3 separate regions of the Homo sapiens genome follow, and all the other regions are linked to region 1. The links are contacts of gene promoters, found by promoter capture Hi-C in blood cells and fetal thymus (Javierre and others, 2016). All regions are on one chromosome and are shown on one strand. The core of a region is centred on a gene start or on the middle of the fragment in contact, and the rest is flanking DNA. Distances in the headings are between cores, read along the strand shown. Region 1 holds the start of ADCY10 (adenylate cyclase 10). Region 2 overlaps ADCY10 (adenylate cyclase 10). Region 3 overlaps DCAF6 (DDB1 and CUL4 associated factor 6).

Evidence for each region. Contacts are between HindIII fragments. The CHiCAGO score rates a contact against its expected background, and 5 or more counts as called.
Region 2: a fragment that was not itself captured here is called in contact with the fragment with the promoter of ADCY10 in region 1 in 1 of 17 cell types (erythroblasts); the score reaches 5.8 in erythroblasts.
Region 3: a contact is called between a fragment that was not itself captured here and the fragment with the promoter of ADCY10 in region 1, in 1 of 17 cell types (erythroblasts). The highest score is 5.3, in erythroblasts.

Annotation. Positions count from the first base shown.
Region 1 is chr1:167,912,433-167,915,436 of GRCh38, reverse strand. ADCY10 (adenylate cyclase 10) reads left to right here and starts at 1,303. Exons shown (of 33, transcript NM_018417.6): 1 at 1,303-1,461. It also overlaps a transcript of DCAF6 not described here. RefSeq lists enhancers at 922-1,598, 1,599-2,275. The HindIII fragment of the contact is 13,833 bases long and covers 1-1,631 here.
Region 2 is chr1:167,842,337-167,845,454 of GRCh38, reverse strand. All of the region lies in intron 21 of ADCY10 (adenylate cyclase 10), which reads left to right. Among named protein-coding and RNA genes, the nearest start is that of ADCY10, 70 kb to the left of the region's middle. The HindIII fragment of the contact is 1,093 bases long and covers 858-1,950 here.
Region 3 is chr1:167,994,892-167,997,801 of GRCh38, reverse strand. All of the region lies in intron 7 of DCAF6 (DDB1 and CUL4 associated factor 6), which reads right to left. Among named protein-coding and RNA genes, the nearest start is that of MIR1255B2, 2.3 kb to the left of the region's middle. RefSeq lists an enhancer at 1,343-1,402. The HindIII fragment of the contact is 1,704 bases long and covers 403-2,106 here.

The sequences.
Region 1 (3,004 bases), core at 54-2,553:
AAAGTACTTTTCTTTAAGTACTTTAAAGGAAGTTTTAATTTTACTACAAAAAGGATATACTGTGTTAACCTATTTGCACGGTTTCTGAACTAATAACTTTATAGCAGAAAAGAAGCTGCTTGGGGTAGAGGAGTAGTAGGTGGGGTGGAGAATGCTCAATAAGAGATAAATTCTTTAGTCTTTTTTTGTGGTATGGCATCTCTTTTAAGGAAACTTTGATCCAAGGTATGTCAGTGCTGCTGTTTCCTCATAGTAAATATTTTCTTTTTTAACTTATAAAATCATAGCGAAAGGTTGAATGTTAATGAGGATGGACCTCAAAGCTAAGGTTCCTTTCTGTAAAACAAAGGTCTCTACTGGAGCCTGTTTATATAATGAAGCAGAAATAGAAAACACTGGCATTTATTAAGAATAGCTCTCCCTAAGGGGATTGTTTAATTAAATGAGGTATGATTCTAATTATAAGACTGGTTTCCACAACTCACACCAGAAAATTCACTCAATGAACATAATTAAATGACCCTCTTGTTTTCCTCCCTAAGACAACTGTGTTTTACAACATTTGGAAGTACACAGTAAACAATTACAGAGCGGGGCTTTATAGGAGAACATGTACAGCTTTTTAAATAAGACTTTTTAAATTCCAATTTTAAAAGCTGTGCCCCTAAATGATAATTGTGGTTGTGATGATATACATAAGAACATTTAGAAAATCAACACATGATTTAAGCTGTTAGAAAACACACCAGCCTCTTAAAATACATTTTTCCAGTGTCACATCAGATAAAGAAAACTCAAATCCAGTGCCCATTGGATTTCAAGTTATCTTTGGGATAAATTTGATTAAAAGCGTGCACTTGACCAGTCAGAAAGGGCAGGTATATAATTCTTCAAACAAAAATTTACCTCACAAATATATCTGAAGGTAAGTATTGAATTTATTATAACTGGTAAATTTCATAGTCCTGGTACAAGCTGTAACCACTATTGACTAAAATTAGGTGTTTGCTTGCTCTGGAGATACTTCTGATGATCACCTACCAACTATTGCCTAATTTCAACCATCCTCCACATGGCCAAGGGAAGAATTGTGTAAACTACTCTGGGGTCATGTCAGTCTCCCCTGACCCTTGCCTCAAATGTGCGGATAAGAGAACCTGAAACAGCCAGTCCTTCCTTGTACAGTAGTAGGCCACTCAGGTTGGTGGGGGAGGGGACGGCAGTGCCACCCAATCAGAAACATGGTCGGTGCCCGTGGAACAATGAGCTACTGATGAGGGTGTGGCCTGGAAAACGGCTTTTAGACAAAACTGTCATTTTATGGGTCAGCTATAGACAGACATGGCGCTTCAGCTGTCTTCAGAATAATGTCACCCGGCCTCCTCTCCTGTCTTCTGCAGTCTTAAAAGACCTAGTCCCTAACTGAGGTCTGGCTTTTCCTCAGCCCTGGATGAAGTGGAGGTATGTGGAAGTAAGAGTCTCAGCAGAAAGATTGATTGCAGAGCTGAAGATGAGGGCGACCGTCAGGAAAGAAGACAGCTATTGCAGAGGAGTGGGAAGCCTGGGGCTAGAAGTCAGGGTTCAAGTTTGTGTATACCTCTGTGTCAGTCCCTTACATGAGCTTAGAAGCTTGAAGGCTTAAATATTGCCTCACCTTCTCAACCTGGATGCTCTGTCTTTCTAGCTTACTTTCTTTATTTGCCTCTTTTCTGCAGTTTCTCACGTGATATCCTCCTTTTTATCAGTCAACAACTACCAAGTGCCTACCTCTTGAAGGGGGCTCTGGCAAGGTGCTGTGGAGTAAACAAAGATATGTAGAAGATGGTTCCAAACGGGGAGCTTACAATTCAGATGAAGACAAAATAGAAGCAATTCAAAAGATAATCAAGGATATTTGTATGGGAAATAAGCCACTTAAGTGTAGACATTAAGAGCCACAATAGCTCAGAAGAAAAATTACCATGGCTAGAGTAGGCAAGCAAGCTTTCATGACAGGTAACACTGTGCCTTTAAGTTCAGAGTATCTCCCTCTTTGGACTCGTGAAACCTGACTTTACATGTAGGTGAAAAGTTGAATATAAAATCTATTAGGAAATTCTAGAGGAGAGATTTAGAGAAACTGATGAATATAATCGAACCCTAATTTCTCTTTTCATTTTTGGGTACTACTGAGTTTTCTTTACTCACACTCCGCATTCAGGAATCCTTCTTGGTTTATCTTTCGGGCCTCATTCGCCTGCTTGCCTTTTGACTCAGGTATCCTCATTTCTCATTCCAAGGTGCTTCCGCGCTTTGTCAGTACCCATGCTGTTCATGCTGTATTCTTGATGTGATAGAATTGGCTGAACAGTTGATAAGGGTACCATCAACATGCATTGAAAGTGCTCTTAAATTAAACCTACATCTTTTGTCTAGGTCATATACATCCCCAAAGTGCTATAAAGCGTATACAAATGGGATATAGCATGATATAGTAGAAACAACAGGGACTTTCAAGTCCCACAGACCTGGATATTCCAGCTTTATAACCCAGAGCAAGTTAATACCTCTGTGCTTCAGTTTTCATATCTATAGAAATCAGGTCTACTTCATAGCGCTGTTTGGATGATTAAATGAGGCAACCTATGTAGAATTGATACGGCTCCGATGAGTGGAGGAACACCAAGGTTCTTAGTCCTCATCCCGGTTTAGATAAAACGACACAGACACATGTGGAGTGATTTTAAGGATCGGAGAGTTTAATAGGCAAGAAGGAAGAGGAAAGAGGGAAGAAGCTCCCCCATACAGAGACAGAGGGAGGGGGGCTCCAAAGCCGAGAGAGGGAACCCCCAGTGGGGTGGACGTCAGCTAGGTATATATTACAGACGCTGGAGGAGGCAGTGTCTGATTTGCATAGGGTTCAGGGGATTGGTTTGACCAGGCATGTCATTCACAAAGCCCTTGAAAAAGCTAGCCCTCTCACCCTAGCCTTTTAATATGCAAATGCAGGGTGCCATGATGTTCT
Region 2 (3,118 bases), core at 155-2,654, 70 kb after region 1:
TTGGGCACAAAGAATGATGAGACTTCAGCAGCCTAGGCCAATGGGGAAGAGAAAAGTAAGGGAATGTACCTGTATTGAGTCTAGCGAACCAATCTCACTATAACTGTCAGGGAGGGTTTGGGGATAGGGGCTCTGGCAAAATGGGATGTGACCAGAACTCAAACTAAAATATCCCACTTAATTCACACCAAAGGATGGAATCCAAAGGGGGGTACAATCTGACATGATGACATGGTGTTTCTTGGCAGATAAGAATATTATTGCTTTGTTGGTCTAGTTTGAAACAGGTTCCAGTGGGTAAAGAACATGACTGAGAGAGAATTAGCCAGGGCTAAGCAGGTCAGGGCTCCAGAAAACAGGGCTTGGTTTCAGGGCAAGAATTCAAGACCATCGGAGAAGCAAAAGTTAAAAAGTTACAAGCCAATAATACCAACCAGCCATGTGATCTGAGAAAACATAGCAGAGGATTCAGGGGGTGTAAGGACCCAAAGACTCAGTCACTATGGGCATGATGGGTGTCAGACACAGAGCAACACCACCAATTCTAGCCCCCATTCATGGTGGCCAGGGAGCTCCTAATGGGCTGCCTACTCTAGTCAGAGGACCTTGGTGATTATGGCTAAATCTGGTTGGGAAATCAGAGGCTACAAGTAGAGGACTCCTATATTATAAGGATATTAAAAATCAGGAAGAAATGTATCTAAACTGCCTAGTACATAGCAGGTGCAAAATAAACTTTTTTTTCTCATTCGTTCTCCATTTCATGTGCCTTCTCAGTGGATCCTCATATTAACCCTTTAAGGTTGATGAGGGTTGTTTTCATTGTATAGATTTTTTAAATTGTGGTTCTGGAAGCTTAAGTAACTTACCCAATACCACAGAATGAGTGACAGGCTTTATTCAATCTGCCATCAGTCTAATTCCTAAGTTCATCCTCTGCTCATTATACCTGAGCTCCCCCAAATGTGGGGTTGGATTTTAGGTAATACTTGCCAGAAGATAGGAAGTTCGTAGACACAGCATGAAGTAGAAATCAAGAGAATGAGAAAGTTGCAGCTTTGCACAGTGGGACGAGCATGTTGTTGAAACTGCACTAACACTAGTCCATCTCCCTTTTTGGAAAACAGGAATCAGGCTGTAGGTTCAGAGCCTTAGGATCTGGACCATGAAGATTTTTAGTCCTCTGAGAGCTTGAGTACAAAGAGGATAAGACTTCAGCAATAGTCTCATCTGCACTGGGCAGGGAAGATGTCAGGGGAATGTACACCTACCTGAGTCTAGTTCTATTACTAGCATTTATTAAATTCTCTCTTGTTTGTTATATTTTTACAAAATTGGTAATATTATTATCACAAAAGTGGTATGTGTGTAATATTATGTTGAAATTGAAATTTGTGCCAGAGCACCAAGATACAACTAATGCTGCAATTCAAACTGAGGCAGTGGATATACAGAATTACAAAAGAAATAGCTGAGAATCAATTATAATCTTGGATCCTTCGCCCAGACCTAAGACATAGAAATGAGGAAGAGGATGTAGAGGGTCAGGATTTGTGAAGAGATCTCTTTGGTGAGAACTGATGAGGTGCTGTGTGCCCTCCTCAAGTGGGTTGTTTACTTCATCACCTCAAGCCTGGTGAGGTGTCTTCCTTAGAATCAGAGGACATAGAACACTGGGGCCTGCCTCATGCCTAAGAAGGCTGAAGTGGCCTGTGGCTGCATTGGGATCAAGCTGCCATCCCAGACTGTGGGAAAGGATGTGTGAGGGTTTCTCATGGATCAGATAAAACCCACCTGGGAGAAACAGCCAGTCTGGAACCATTTTAAGTTCTTCCCAGGGTGCCCTTGGGAGGGTAACAAGACCCTTGGGTGTGGACTGCTAGAATGAGACAGGGATAAGGGGGACAGACTGGAGCACCGAGAAGATGCGCTGCCTGAATTAAGGAAGCTTTAGTGAAGGATCCCACACAGGGCCCTATTCAAAGAACCAATGAAAGTATCAGTAGGAGATGAAATGATGGAAAGAGATGAGGGAAAGGGGAAAGAAGAATATTTGACTGTGCGGGGTCAGTGAGTCATACATATACACACACACATACACATGTACACACACATACATATACATAGATGCATTTTTTGGTAGATTGATGTTTTATTTTGGGGGATAAAATAAGCTAAAATACACTGACAGCTAGAATATAGGTCAGTTTGAGCAGCTGGCCTTGAGCAGGTTGACTAGTGTCATCAAAGCAAACAATTTCAGTTATTTGCAGATTTTCCAATCAACTGGCAGTTCAGCTCTGGAACATATATGACCAAATGTCTCTGAATAATGTCTGCTGGTATCCCTTCCATCAGCACCTCCACCTGAGTGAGGCCACAGCTCTACTATTTCTCTTATCAGAATTTTTCACCTGTTCAGAAGGCTATCGACTCGACAAACTTTAGAGACTTTGTAAATTCCCTAAATGTCGTATCACAAAACAGTAATCCCATGGCCGACCGTCCCACACACCTTCAGTAATTCCAGTCAGGGGCAAACATTTTTAATTTAGCTGTTCTTTCTAGTCATTACCTCCATATACTAAATGGTATATTAACATTGCTTTTACTGATTTTTAAGAAAATCAAATTCTGACATCTGTTTTCTGGCTATGGCAGATGAGGATTTAACTCTGTTACACCACTCCTCGGCCCCTCTCCCCTATATTGTCATATAACTGGCATTAGATAAGCCAATGAAGTGTTTACATTATTAAGACTATGTAAATGTTGTCCATTACAAACCAAGTAATATACTGTGAATAGATTTCTTAACAAATGTTTATTTTCCCTAGGGTTACTAGGAAACGTTTTTTTTTTTGCAGTGTCTTCCTTAAAATATCCTGCTTTAATCTATCCTAGACAGATAGATACTCTGTCTATCCTTTATCCCTGAACCTCCCAAAGTGTGGAGTATAACCTTTAGGCAATACTGGTCAAGGACATAATTGGGACCAAGTGTGGTGGCTCACGCTTGTAATCCCAGCACTTTGGGAAGCTGAGGTGGAAGGATCACTTGAAGCCAGGTTCAAGCCAGGGCTGGTTCAAGACCAGCCTGGACAACAAACTGAGACTC
Region 3 (2,910 bases), core at 5-2,504, 82 kb before region 1:
TTTGTCTTTTTATTGTTGCACTGTAAGTGTTCCTTATACATTCTGGATACTAAACTGTAACCAGACACATGATCTGCAAAACATTTTCTCCCATCCTGTGGGTCACTCTTTTTATTTTTATTTATTTTTTAAAAACAGCATTCATTGATTTTTTTTTCCTGAAAATTAAACAGGTTTTGATAAAAACTTGGTGACACTTAACAGTGAATTTTCTGATTTCTTCTGGAAACCATACCTAGTAACATGAATAGAAAAAAATCTTTGCATCCTGAGCAAAGGAGACAGAAAAAAAAATCCCCATAAATTCCATATTATGTGTAAGTATGGCTAAAGGCAACTGAGAATAGTAAAATCTACACAGGAAGACGTAAGTGTGTGACAGGGAATAACCAGAACAAAGCTTAATGTGGCAGCTGTGCAAATTCTCAAACAACTAATCACTCCCAAAAGGAGAGGGCTTCATCCTTCATACGAACTATTCTTAAAACAATATAATAGAATCTTGCTTCATGGTTTCAACAGAGAGGAATTTTTATATTACATAGCCAAAGAACTGGTTTTACAACCTCAGCAATTATTTATAGAATAAAATCTTCAAATTAAAAACAATCTCAAATTTGACTTTCTGAGTATGTGAAATAACCTAGGCAAGAATACTGAAAATGGCGTTTCATTCACCAAATATTTTTTGAGCACCTTTTATATGTCAGGTACTATTACAGGTATTGGAAAACAACAATGGACAAAACACACAAAAAATCCCCAATGTCACAGAATTTACAGCCCGATGGAGCAAACAACACATGAAATGAAAAAGCAAAATATACATAGAAAGTTACTGTTATGGAGAGAAATAAAGTAGAAAAGGGGATAGGTAGTATCAGTTAAAGGCCGTGATTTTAAATAGGATGGTGAAGTAGGGCTTCACCAAGAAGGTTACATAAGCAAAGACCTGAAATACACAGGGAAGAAAAAATCCAGGTATCCAGGGAAGAGCATTTCAGGCAGAGTAAATGCAAAATCCTAAAATAGAGTCATGCTTGGCCTGAGTTACTAAGCAAGTAGATGTGGTTAGAGCACAGTAAAGAAGAAAACAGTAGAAGTAATAATTAGGACCAGATAATATAAGATCTTGAAGCCACCATAAGGACTTCAGTTTTGCTTTAGGTCCGACAGGGAGCCACTTAGAATGTTGATGAGAAGAGCGGCATGATTTAACTTATGTTTCTAAGGATCACTTTGAATGCTGTATAGCTATAGGGCTGTAGGAAGTGAAAGCAGGAAGACTGGTTAGAAAGCTAGCAAAATCAACTACAAAGGGGGATAGGTCATGCCAGAGATGCTGATAGCTCGGATCAGGGTGGTAATGCAGCAAGGGTGGTGGTAAGCAGTAGTCAGATCTGGAGTATATTTTTAGGCACAAGCTATGGGGACCAGAAGAAAATGAAAGAATGAATTCAACAAAGAAGCCCAATAATGGGGTAGGGCAGGTGGTAAACTGTCAAAAAGAAGAAAAGAGAGATGATAAAAAGAAAAAAGGATAGAAAAATAAGGGAAAACAGAAAGTACAAAAAAAATTAAGACAAAAGAATGAACCAAAGAAAGAAGGGGGAAAAAAATGAAAGAAATTATTAGAGGCGGTAAGGAAATAGAAAGGCCTCCACAAATTGAGAAAATACAAAAATATTATGGAAACATAAGACAAAATCATACAACAAACTTTTACTCATGCTTTAAAACCTTCCTCAGGCTTTACTCAAGATTAATTATTCCCTACTTTGTTCTACTTATACAGAACATAGTCCTTATACATAATTCTATATTAAGTTTTACATATTTATTTACTTGTACCTCTACTTCCACTAAGCTGTGAATTCCTTAAGTAAGAGATCATGTCTTTGTCTGGTCATCCTTCATTTTCCAAAGTTAAGTAGAGGACTTGGTGTATAGTAGGCACCCAATAAATATTTGGTGAGTTAAGTTTGTCTGAATACTATCATCAAAGTTTCAGTATAAAACACCAAAATGTGTCAGAATTACAAATAAGACAGATTATTAATTTATTCTATGTATACCTCTGAATTGTTTGGTTTGTTATAATAAGCTTTTTTTTTTTTTTTCTGAGACTGAGTTTTGCTCTTGTCACCCAGGCTGGAGTGCAATGGCGTGATCTCGGCTCATGCAACCTCCTTCTCTTGGGTTCAAGCAATTCTCCTGCCTCAACCTCCCAAGTAGCTGGGATTACAGGCGCCTGCCACCAAGCCCAGCTAATTTTTGTATTTTCAGTAGAGAAAGGGTTTCACCATGTTGGCCAGGTTGGTCTTGAACTCCTGACCTCAGGTGATCCACTCGCCTCGACCTCCCAAAGTGCTAGGATTACAGGCGTAAGCCACTACGCCCGGCCAACAAGCATAATTTAAATCCACTTTCAGCATTGTTTTTCTTAATTTAGTTAATGCAACAAACAAGACCAAGGAAAAGTCTCCCAGAAAAAAAAATGTTCATGACTCAGCCTCATTCACTCTGATTATATAAATATCTTTTGGCTAAGTATTCCATGGTATCAAAACTAGTTGGCCCACTTAAAATGTCTATGGACTTCCAACTCTTTCATTATGTAACAATCACAGTTTGACTATAACTTTACTTACCCATGTATTTCAAGGGGAAATTTGCATAGCAGTAACAAAATGACAGAGCAGATTTCATGTTTTTAACCAGAATAAACTCAAAAATCATTTTATTAGCCATCATACCCTTCTTCATCAATTTCCTAATTCAAATAAATACACTGCAAGGATAAAAATCTCAAAGTATATTTATAAAGTAATCCTGATTTCTAATTTTACAGCCCTCTACACCTGAAATTATGAGGAATGAATATAGTTTTGTATCTCGTAGGAATTCCAA